Regions from separate parts of the Homo sapiens genome. Here region 1 is linked to region 2. Evidence: promoter capture Hi-C in human tissues and cell types (Jung and others, 2019). All regions are on one chromosome and are shown on one strand. Each heading gives the region's core, a stretch centred on a gene start or on the middle of the fragment in contact. The rest is flanking DNA. Distances are from core to core; before and after follow the strand shown. Region 1 has its middle 10 kb from the start of RERG. Region 2 holds the start of ART4 (ADP-ribosyltransferase 4 (inactive) (Dombrock blood group)).

Region 1 (4,971 bases), core at 2,147-4,646, 390 kb after region 2:
TGTACTGAACACTCCAGTTAAAAGACAGAATATTTCAGATTGGATTAAAACTGATGCAACTGTATGCTTTTTACAAAAATCACTTCTTAAATAAAAAGGCACAGATAGATTGAAAGTAAAAAAGAAAAAAAAAAAAGGAAAAAGATGTTCCATGCAAACACTAGCCAAAGGAAAAAGGCAATTTGCAACTGACCTTCCTTCCATGTCATTCCATACATGAAAGTTAGCCCAAAGCCTGTGTTCTGAATCATAATGCTTCACTACTTTTATAACACAGCGAAGTTCATCTCCCTTTGTAATATTTCTTTGTCTTGGCCAAGGTTGATGGCCTCCGTTCTTCTTTCCCATTCTCAGTTCATTTGGTGTTGTTCTGAGCATGACAACAGGAATACTAGAAATGAGCACGCTTAGAGAAAAGTAAGCTGTAGTCAATATTCTGTGTCTCTTCTGCAGATCCTCACTCTGAATCTTCCTACTCACCTGGCCATACCCTATGGTGGGCAGGATTGCTGGAATGACAGCCCACTTTGTTTAGGAAAGGGAGAAGACAGTGAGTTGCCCATATCTGAGCAGATCTTTGAACCATACTCTGAACCAAATTTAGTTCTTATTAGTCCATCTCTGTTTAAACTATTTTTCCAGACTATTGGAGATTAGATTCTCCTAAAAGAATTGGATTTCTTTTTGAATTCTTATTGCTATCACTTTTACTGACTTTTAAGTGGGCAGTAGAACAGTTCTAAGATTAGTTGCCTATGCCTCCTTGTTAGTACTGTGCAATAGAGAAAGAGAGAGAGAGACTATCTGCTAACAGTAAATGCACTTTAGTTATCCTAGTTATATAAGTATTGCAGCTATGTAAGTTGGAATCTTGAAGAAATTAATAAATTCAAATAGAATAATATATTCCACTGGAGGTTAATGCTGCTCAGATGATATCGGATGATCTTTACCTAATAAACTGTCAGGGAATTAGAAACACATTTGCAAAGTTCTGACAATTTGTGGGACCTGGAATAACATAATAAAAGCAAAATTTAGCTTACCACAGGGTCAATGTGAAAAGCCACATTTACTTATATAAGAAAGTCCACATGGTTTTGTACTTCCTAACTTTGCTTTTAATGATACATAAAAACAATTCCAAACTGGAACATTTTTTGAACCTCACAAATTCCAACTTATCATCTATGGTTACAAAAGGTTAAGAAGCCACATGAGCTAGGATAATTTTCCCTCTGTTCTGTCTCTTATATAGGGTTGAAAATAGAAACTCTTTTTACATGAAATCATCATTTAATGAATCTAGTTGATACAGAAATCCTAATGTTTAATAACAGCCACCAACTGATGCCAATAAGCAGCTAACTCAGGGAAAACTGTAGAAGGTGAAAAACATTACAGTTTTACTTATTTACTTATTTACATAGTAGCTGGCATGGAGATAGAGCTTGATTCATTTTCATTATTGTTGAATAAAATAAATACAATAAAATATGCATGATCTGTGGATGATTGAGCATGAAACAAATACATAGTAATTTCTGGTTTAATATTTCATCAGGCTAGCTATCCCCAGCTAAGTGTTTCCAAAATGCTGCCAATATACATCAAATAAGACATTGATAAAGATGAAAACACATGCCAAAATCTAAAGCCAACACTCAAACAAAACAAACCACTTTAACAGTTTAGGATATATTCTTCCTCCTTTGTCTGTGTACTCACTCACACACACACACACACACCCATAAACATGCATTTTTAAAAATTCTTACATATTGAATCATAATGTACAAATTGTTCTTTTTCTCATGCACTGTGCTTTAGAGATCTTTTCATTTCACTACATACAGATGTACCTCACTGATTTCAACAGTGTTGTCATGGTACTCAGGAACTATGTACCAAACACCATTTATGTAATTTTTTAACCATCTAAAAGTACATTTTTATATTAGAAATATTATTCATCATTTTAATGAGGTAAATCCGTATATACTGACATAAAATATCTCCAACACAAAACAAGGGGCAATACATAAAATCTGATGCCATTCCTGTAAAAAAAGAAGTCTACATAATTTCTATGTAGAGACACACATGACTTCATAGTAAATGTATGAAGGATAGAAAGCTAACAGATGAAAGTCCCTTTGGAGAAGTATCTGGGGTTGGTGTGGGTAGATAAGGGGGTGTTAGGCTTATCTGTAATGTTTTAATCTGTTTTATTTAGCTTATCTTGTAATGAAGATATATGTATTGTATTAGCTGGCAAAATAAAAATTATATCATATTTTAAGTAATAAAAAGTATATAAACTGGAAAATGAATACGTGTATTCTAGAGATGGTTGGAAAACCTTGTCAAGGGAAATTGGTCCATCAGCAGCAAGATCATCAATGCAGAAATGTAAAATGGTTGGATTTTACAGTTACATCTCTTAAATGAACACTGTCAAGATGATACCTCATGTGCTTTTCCCTGGTGGCTGTGAATATTATTTTAGCCAGCTTGTTCATGAAGGATGATGACAGAAAGGCATGGAAGTCAATTAAAAGATGCTGCCATTTATGTCAAACTCTGGGACTGAGTATGAGAGTCATGCTACTGTCAATCATGCTGGTCCTTTGCATATTAGTGTCCCTGCAAGGCTGGCTGCACAGGGGCTCACTTTTATGAAAGCTGGATTCCAGTGCAGTCACCTTTCAGTTGCCTTGTTATCAGTGCCTTTTTCTCCATTACGCATATCGTTTGCCCTTATGTCTTTCCCCTTACCTTTAGCTGGATGATAATATTGAAAGATAGAGTTACTGGAGCTTATTGAAACACAAAAACCAAAATTTACAATTTACTTTTTAAATATATCCATGGCTCAGAATTTCAGAGGTGAGCAAAATAAACAAACAAATATAAAGCTATATCTAGGTGTTTCCCAAAAACACTGGAAGAAAGCAATTTCCTTTCTATGTTAGTAGTTTAAAGATCTGTAATTAAAGTGAACTTTTAACTAAAACAAGAACTGAGGATTCTTCAATACTGATACAAAACAAGTGAATGTTACAGCTGAGAATGAAATAATAACCTAGGACTAATAGAAGAACGTCAGTAGAATCTGGATTGTGTATGAAAATAGATCTGGAAACCAGTAAGCAGAGAGATGGTTGCCTTAGCTGCTGCCTCTAGAGCTCTTACTAATCCTTCAACAGGATTGAATAGCAAAGGACAATGATATCAAAAGACTACTCTGCAACACATGCAAATGTACATAATTATTCCTGAGTCCACAACATAATGCAGCCATTCTTAGATTCTATATTTTTGTTTTTAACATAATGTCTTAAGTTAATGAAACTCCTCAGAAGATGTAGCCTTGAAAGACCCCATCTAGCCATTTTGTTAAGATTCTGCAAATCAAGTAAGCAGACCTCTTATCAAAATTATATTTTAAAATTTTAAGAACATTTAAAATGTATGTGTTGTGCATCACATAAACTGATGAATGCACAGCAGAAGAGCACAAATTCGAGTCTTTCAAGTGTGTTGATCCTGGCTGATGGAGGAAAAGAAGAATGCATGCCTGAAAAGAAGTTCTCACATGTATCTACTCTTACAGCACACTACAAAGAGTTATAGAAATATTTGCCTAATATTAGCTGCTCTGCCACCCCACCCAGAGAACATTGGGAGGGACTGGGTTACACAGGCTCAACAGGACAAGCCAAGTTGAAAACATGCAGATATGAAAGCCCAGGGAGCTGTCAAATGGCAGAAAGGCAGAAAGGAAGAGAGGCAGGTTTATCAACGTCAAAATCTTAGACCAGGAGACAAGTAGAAGCAAAAACTGGTAGGAGCTAAATGAATAATCTATTTGACAATTATCTGCACTTTCTGTGTAGCATACCCATATGATACATCTCCATTTTCCCTTCTTTCTTCACTTTATACCTCCATCAAATAAACCTGTCTGATGTCTTATTCTCTTAGATTCTGGCTGGGTGACAGAAGCAGTCTGATACATTAATTCCTGCCAGATGTTAACTGGGGCAATAACATCATGGATAAGATCAGGAACAGCATAGGTTGGAATCCAGACTCTGCCTCTATTAAATTGTGTGTCTGTGATATAGGTTCTTTTTTTTAAGGTGAAGTGAGTTTGTTGATGTGTACCCTAATCTAATATGACTGCAGGTCTTATAAGGAGGGGTGGTTAGGACACAAAAAAGCTCAAAAGTAGACCCTCTGAATACAGAGACAGAAGACAGCCATCTCCAAGCTAAGAAGAGAGGGCTCAGAGAAACCACCCCAGACTGACAGCTTGTTGTTGGACTTCTATCCTACAAAATTGTGAGAAACTAAACTTCTGTGGTTAAGCTCTTCAGTCTGTGTGCCATATTATGGCAGCCCTAGGAAACTATCCCAGCCTATTAGGACACACATAGGATGCTCCCTGCAGAATGGCTACATGGAAATGGAATCTTATTATGACAGGATCCAACAGCATTGAGAGGCTGACCCGCTATGGGAAATGGCTTCCCTTAAGGAATAGTATGATGCCATGTGAGGGCACTTCCTGATGGGGCTCCTCCCTGATGGGGCTAGAGGGATGAATTCTGTGGGATGACCCTTTACAGACAAATGCATGGAGTAGCTTCACCTCCTTTTTTGTGTAACCCCCCTACTTTTGTGTAAAAACCTCCCCAGTAAATGTTGGATTGTGAGTCTTGGAGGACGTCTAGCAGGGCCATGGAGCTGTGTGCTATATGAGATATCTAGGGTGGGGAGTTAAAACAAAACTGTGGCAACAAGCAGAGATACTCATGGTGTTTTCTCTGATCTTCCTACAAGGTGGTGAAAGGGATTTTGCATGTAATCAAGTTGCCACTGGGGAATAATGTCAGGCAGATTCCTCTGGGAGGAGACAGTGGGTTACTCAATTGGGAAAGCCCTAGGAGAGAGCCCAGGGAATTT
Region 2 (5,192 bases), core at 747-3,246:
TGTTTTCAAAAATATCACTTTTATGAATGCCCAAAACCAAATTAAATCCTTGAACTTTATCCTTAAGCTATGAATAGTACTAAGGGGGCTCTCATAAGTAACAACCTTCTTGTCTACCTGGGTTCTGAAAACATTGATAATAAAAATAGCAAAATATGAAAGCCAAAATATCTGTTTTCTTACTGAAAAAGGGCACGCTACAGCAGTCACATTGTTAGGTCTGATAGCAAGTGGCTTGTTAAGAGCAAATTCCAGAATGGGACCGACTCGTTTGCAGGCAGTACTGAACTGGGGCCTGCCCAGGTAAGATTCTTGTCATGGGGAAACAGAGAACTGATGCCCTTTGCCATCAGGCTAACTCCCAGGAGGATGAAGAGCAGAGCCAAACTCAGCACACCCAGTTGTTTTTTCCCATGTTACCAGTCAAGTACATTTGTCCCCCTCAGGGACAGCAGAGTGAGTCAAGGGTTGGACAGTGGTCAGGAATGTGCCTAGGAAAGTCCCTCCCCTCCTGGAAAAGGACATTCCTTTCTAATGGGTAGCCAACAGAATGTTGTTTATTCACGTCTAGTGCATGCTAAACTGAAATGACAGATTTGAATAGAAGTCCACAAAATATCATCAGACTATCATTTAGAGCCATATATAAATTATATAAATTCTAAAACATTCCTTTCTTGGCAAAGAAATGATGTTTTCGTAATAAACAGTACTCATTGAGGGACATGTTAAAGGATCACATTCCATCCAGTCAATGTTAAGGATGTTGGAACTGGAACTTAAAGAACATCCCATTTGGTATTTTTACTATGTTATTTATGATGAGACGTCAGCTAGTTGTTTGTGAACTAGAACACATTTTTAAGACTGATTAAATGATTTTAACCAATAACTCTTCACATCAGGTATTAAAATAGGTCTACGGTATCTATTTAAGCCAAGCCGAGCCAAACCAAACCAATAATACAATGTTCTGTCAACTGTCATGATGAACTCTGAAACTTTGTTAATATGTTACTAGATCTCAAATATGTACTCTGTCATCTCTTAACATTAGGTTGTTTTTTGTTACACAGATCTTTATTAAAATATTCACTTAAAACTTAAGTCAATCTGTATGCTAGAGTTTAAAGCCAAATAGACTTGGTTTATTTTGCATTGTTTGTACTATGGAAGCAATATTTTACTTAATTTTTACAGTGGATCAGGAAAATAACTTTATGCCACTAGCATCCATAATGTCAAGTGTACTAACAGTGAAGGATTCTACAATTTTTCATAACTGTTTTCAACACTCTTTACTAACATGATTTGTTAAAATGTCTGAATGAAACTAGATTCTGAATGCCTAAGTTTTCGGCCATTTAAAGGCTGTGGCCGGGTGAATGCTCTGTTGGAGCACTGATCATAAAGAGATCACCCCCTCAATTGTCCCCCTACCTCAGAACCCTCTGTGGGTCTCTGCAGGCCAGAGAGGAGCAGCAGGAATGGCAGCAGGCCTCCAAGGAGCCAGATTCTCATCGTTGCAGGAGGTACAGTAGTTGGGAGAAGAATCTTCTTGCATCTGTTGATCAATGGACCCATTTGCTTGTGTCACAAGTACTTCTCCTTTGCCCTTGCAGCTTCATCCTGAGATGAATTCTCAGAGTTCTCCTTTGAGGTTTTCTTTCAGTCTCATCCGTAACCGTTTTTTCCCCTGTCTATGCTGAGCAACTTCTGTTGCCCACCAACAACCAATAGCTTGTCTGAGGGAAGAAATCAACTCCGACTTCTTTGCAAAACTGAAATCTCTGTGAAATAGCCAGATGCGCACACCAAATAAGGGTTTCTAAAGAGAACCCAAGTTACTTTTCAATTAAAAAAATAAAATCTCTGATCTAGTCTGTATTCAGGGGAATGCCGAAGTCCTGTTAAGTGTCAGACTCAGCAGTTCAGCCTTCCCTTTCCCAGCCAAACAGGAAAAAGCATGCTCTGTCCAGCGTTTGGGGCCAAGTAGCATTATCTGGAGCCCCAGGCTTCCATCAAAACTGATAAGATTGGCATGCGCAGGGCGGCTGGGAACGCGCCACCCTGGGTGTCTATAGGCTCATCTGGCCCTGCTGATAGGCCCTGCCCAGGACGGGCGTTCACAGAGCAAAGTGTGTTTTAGAGTTATTGTCAAAAAGAAGGCTCTTTGTACTGCTTTTCCCTGGCACCTTTGAAACTCTCCAATCCAGAGATTGTACCTCTGGGTTCAAAGCTCTTCCCCCATTTTCTCTTCTGAAGACAGGCCCTCTGTCCGCACAGTTCCAGTCTCCAGTGAATCCTAATGACGACTGTCAGGAGACTGCTTATGTAGAGCTGACATAAGTTAAAATAGGGTCCACTGTGCAAACTTAATCCAGCACAGTTCTATTAAGCACTCTCTTTTAGGTAGGTACTACCCTTTCTAGTCTAAACATCCTTCTTCTCCTCCCAACCCTTGATATAATTATATTTTCTTGCAAATATTTTGTATTTATACTTCTGGATTCATTATTTAAGAAACTAAAAGTTAGCAATCCTTGATAATTGTTTTTCTTGCAAATATTTACTTCTGGATTCAATTTTTAACTTTTAAGGTAAACTAAGTGCTGTTCTTAAGTATTCTAGAATTTTTTGGCACCCTGAATTTTTTTAATCTAAATTTTCTGATGATCACAGCAGTTCTGTCTCATTAACAAATATTCAGAATATTTAGAAAGCACAAAGGAGAAAAAAATGACACATAACCCGTCACTTGGAGACAGCCACTAATTAGGTCTGGATTTTGATTTATACACCCTTAGACATACACACACACAGGTTTCTAGAACTGAAATAATATAGTATGCAGTTTTGCATACTGTTTATTCCCCTTAATATTTTAATGTAAGCATGTCCCTATATAATTTAATACCTATTGAAACATTTTTTAAACAAAGGTTCACTATATTCCATTACATAGGTGCTGCCACACAATGGGACAGCATGGGTGGATCCATGGACAGTCTCAGAAGAAGATTGATAAGTGACTAGAACATGGACTCTTGAATAAGACATCTCAGTTCAATTCCTGGTGCTCCTTCTTCCTAAATGTGTGATCTTGGACAAGCTACTTAACCTCTCTGTCTCTCTGTTTCCTCATGTGTTGAATGGAGATAATAATAGTACCAACTTCATTTTAGTGTTGATACATTCATACTCCTTAGAATAGCATCTGGCACCTAGAAATTTTCCAACAAATAAAACCAATTATTATTATTTGCACCAAAGTTTATTTAATAAATATCTTATATTTAGCTTGTTTTCAACTACATAAATTTTTGTGTGTTTCTCACAATTTTTAAGATGCAGTTCTAGAGATGTGACTACTGATCCATGGAATGCATATTTTTCAGATTTAATGGCAACCACTAGCAGTGTGTGAAAATATCCCTTTAAGACTTTAACAATTCTTAAGGTTCCTTATTAGCAACTGTTACTTTGGAATATTGAGATGTCATGAAGAGAACTAGACTTAGAATATGAAAATTTGAATTATAGTTTGAGTTCTACCCACAATGCTGGCTGAGGTAACTTTAAAAAATAAGTAATTTGTGCTTAGCCTCAGTTTCCTTAACCTTATAGAAAGTTGTCAGGCTTAAATAAGGTGAAACTTTTCTTTTATTGAGCAAGTACTGTACTTCAAGACCTTTTTGCATGTTATCTCAACCCATGGGACGACCATGAAGAGATATTTTAACCTTTCCTTTATAAATGTGGTTGTTGAGGCCCTGTGAAGTTTAATAACTTTTTAGTAATCACAGGTGCTTTTCTGTCTCCTGAAGCCCACGATCTTAAAACACTCTAAAAGAGTGTGTCATTTTATTATTATCTTCTATAAAGGTTTTGCTATTTTTCCTATCGTGACTGCCACTTCCAGGATAAGACCACTGGAGGGCAGCAGAAAACTTTGTAACATTTTATACCACTCAGTCTAAAAGAGGGAGAACAGAAAAGGGAATGGGGCAGGGAGCAGGAAGGGGGATAGAAAGAGAGAGAGAGAGGGAGAAAGATAGAGGGAGAGAGGGAGAGAGAGTGAGGGGGAGAGCAAAAGAGAAGGGGAGCGAGAGAGTGGGGAGGGGAGGGGAGAGAGAGAAGGTAGGGAGAGAGAGAGAAGGTGGGGAGAGAGAGAGAAAGAGAGAGACAGAGAGAGAGAACCATCAGTGAAAACAACTGGGGTAGGGAAAAGCTCAAGTTCTGGTGTATATGTGAACATATTTGAATTAAAATGAAAAGTTAAGTTTTCTGATTGTTTGGAGTCAATAAAAAGTCATCTTTTGCCTTAAGGGCTATCTTATTAAGATTCTCATGTAATAATTTAATATTAGTTAATTTAGAGTTTGGGGTGCATTCAGTTATCATTTAATGATACCCAGTTCTTCAAAATGCAGCCTATTTGTGCTGTCTTGATGGGTTGGGATATAAGTTTTGAAGTAGCACAGACCTTGTGTTGGAATTTTACTTCCATCACTTCCTACCTTTGTGAGTTGGAACAAATTACACTAATTCTCAGTTGCATTTTCTTCATATGTAAAAGTAGACATGGTAACACCAGTCTTGCAGGGTTCTGTTGACAATGAAATGAAAGACCAACAACTCATAGGGTGTCCAACACAGTGAAAGTTAACTTTATTTTTTTTTTTAAGCAGCTGTTTAAGAAGAGGTTTCGCTAATTTTCCAGATCTATTTTCTGGAATAAATTCTAGATATTCTAGACTATTCTAAACCTTCTTTCAGAGAATGGGTTGCAGTACTCACTAGAGGGCCTTTCCCAGGGAGGAAACTTATCTTCTGTTACCGTCCTTGAGGTTTGGCAATGACCTTTAGTAGTTCCTGTTTGGATCTTGTTGAACTCCTTCAGATCTGTGTCTAAATTTAATAGGAGTGTTTTATTGCCAGAAGTACTTGTTAGTCACAGGAAAGTTGTTTGATAGTGACCCCATAATTTGGTAGGCAGAATGGGTTTGAGTTATCTACGTTTTAACTTATCAGTTCCTTCTTAACTCTTAACACTCTTACAGAAGTGAGCAAAGCTCCCTCAGTTATTTCACATTTTTATAACTTTTTATTTAGATAACATTTCATGCTTACACAAAAGGTGCAAGAGTAGAAGGAATTTCGATACACTCTCCAAATTAATCAGTTGTTAA

The links. The method cuts DNA at HindIII sites, captures the fragments that hold promoters and counts their contacts. A contact is called where the count stands out against the background at its distance.
Region 1: a fragment that was not itself captured here is called in contact with the fragment with the promoter of ART4 in region 2 in 1 of the 25 tissues and cell types used here (lymphoblastoid cells).

What each region holds. Positions count from the first base shown.
Region 1 is chr12:15,229,164-15,234,134 of GRCh38, forward strand. No RefSeq gene overlaps it. Among named protein-coding and RNA genes, the nearest start is that of RERG, 10 kb to the left of the region's middle. The HindIII fragment of the contact is 8,704 bases long and covers 1-4,971 here.
Region 2 is chr12:14,841,530-14,846,721 of GRCh38, forward strand. ART4 (ADP-ribosyltransferase 4 (inactive) (Dombrock blood group)) reads right to left here and starts at 1,997. Exons shown (of 3, transcript NM_021071.4): 1 at 1,441-1,997. The coding sequence starts at 1,584. The HindIII fragment of the contact is 17,730 bases long and covers 1-5,192 here.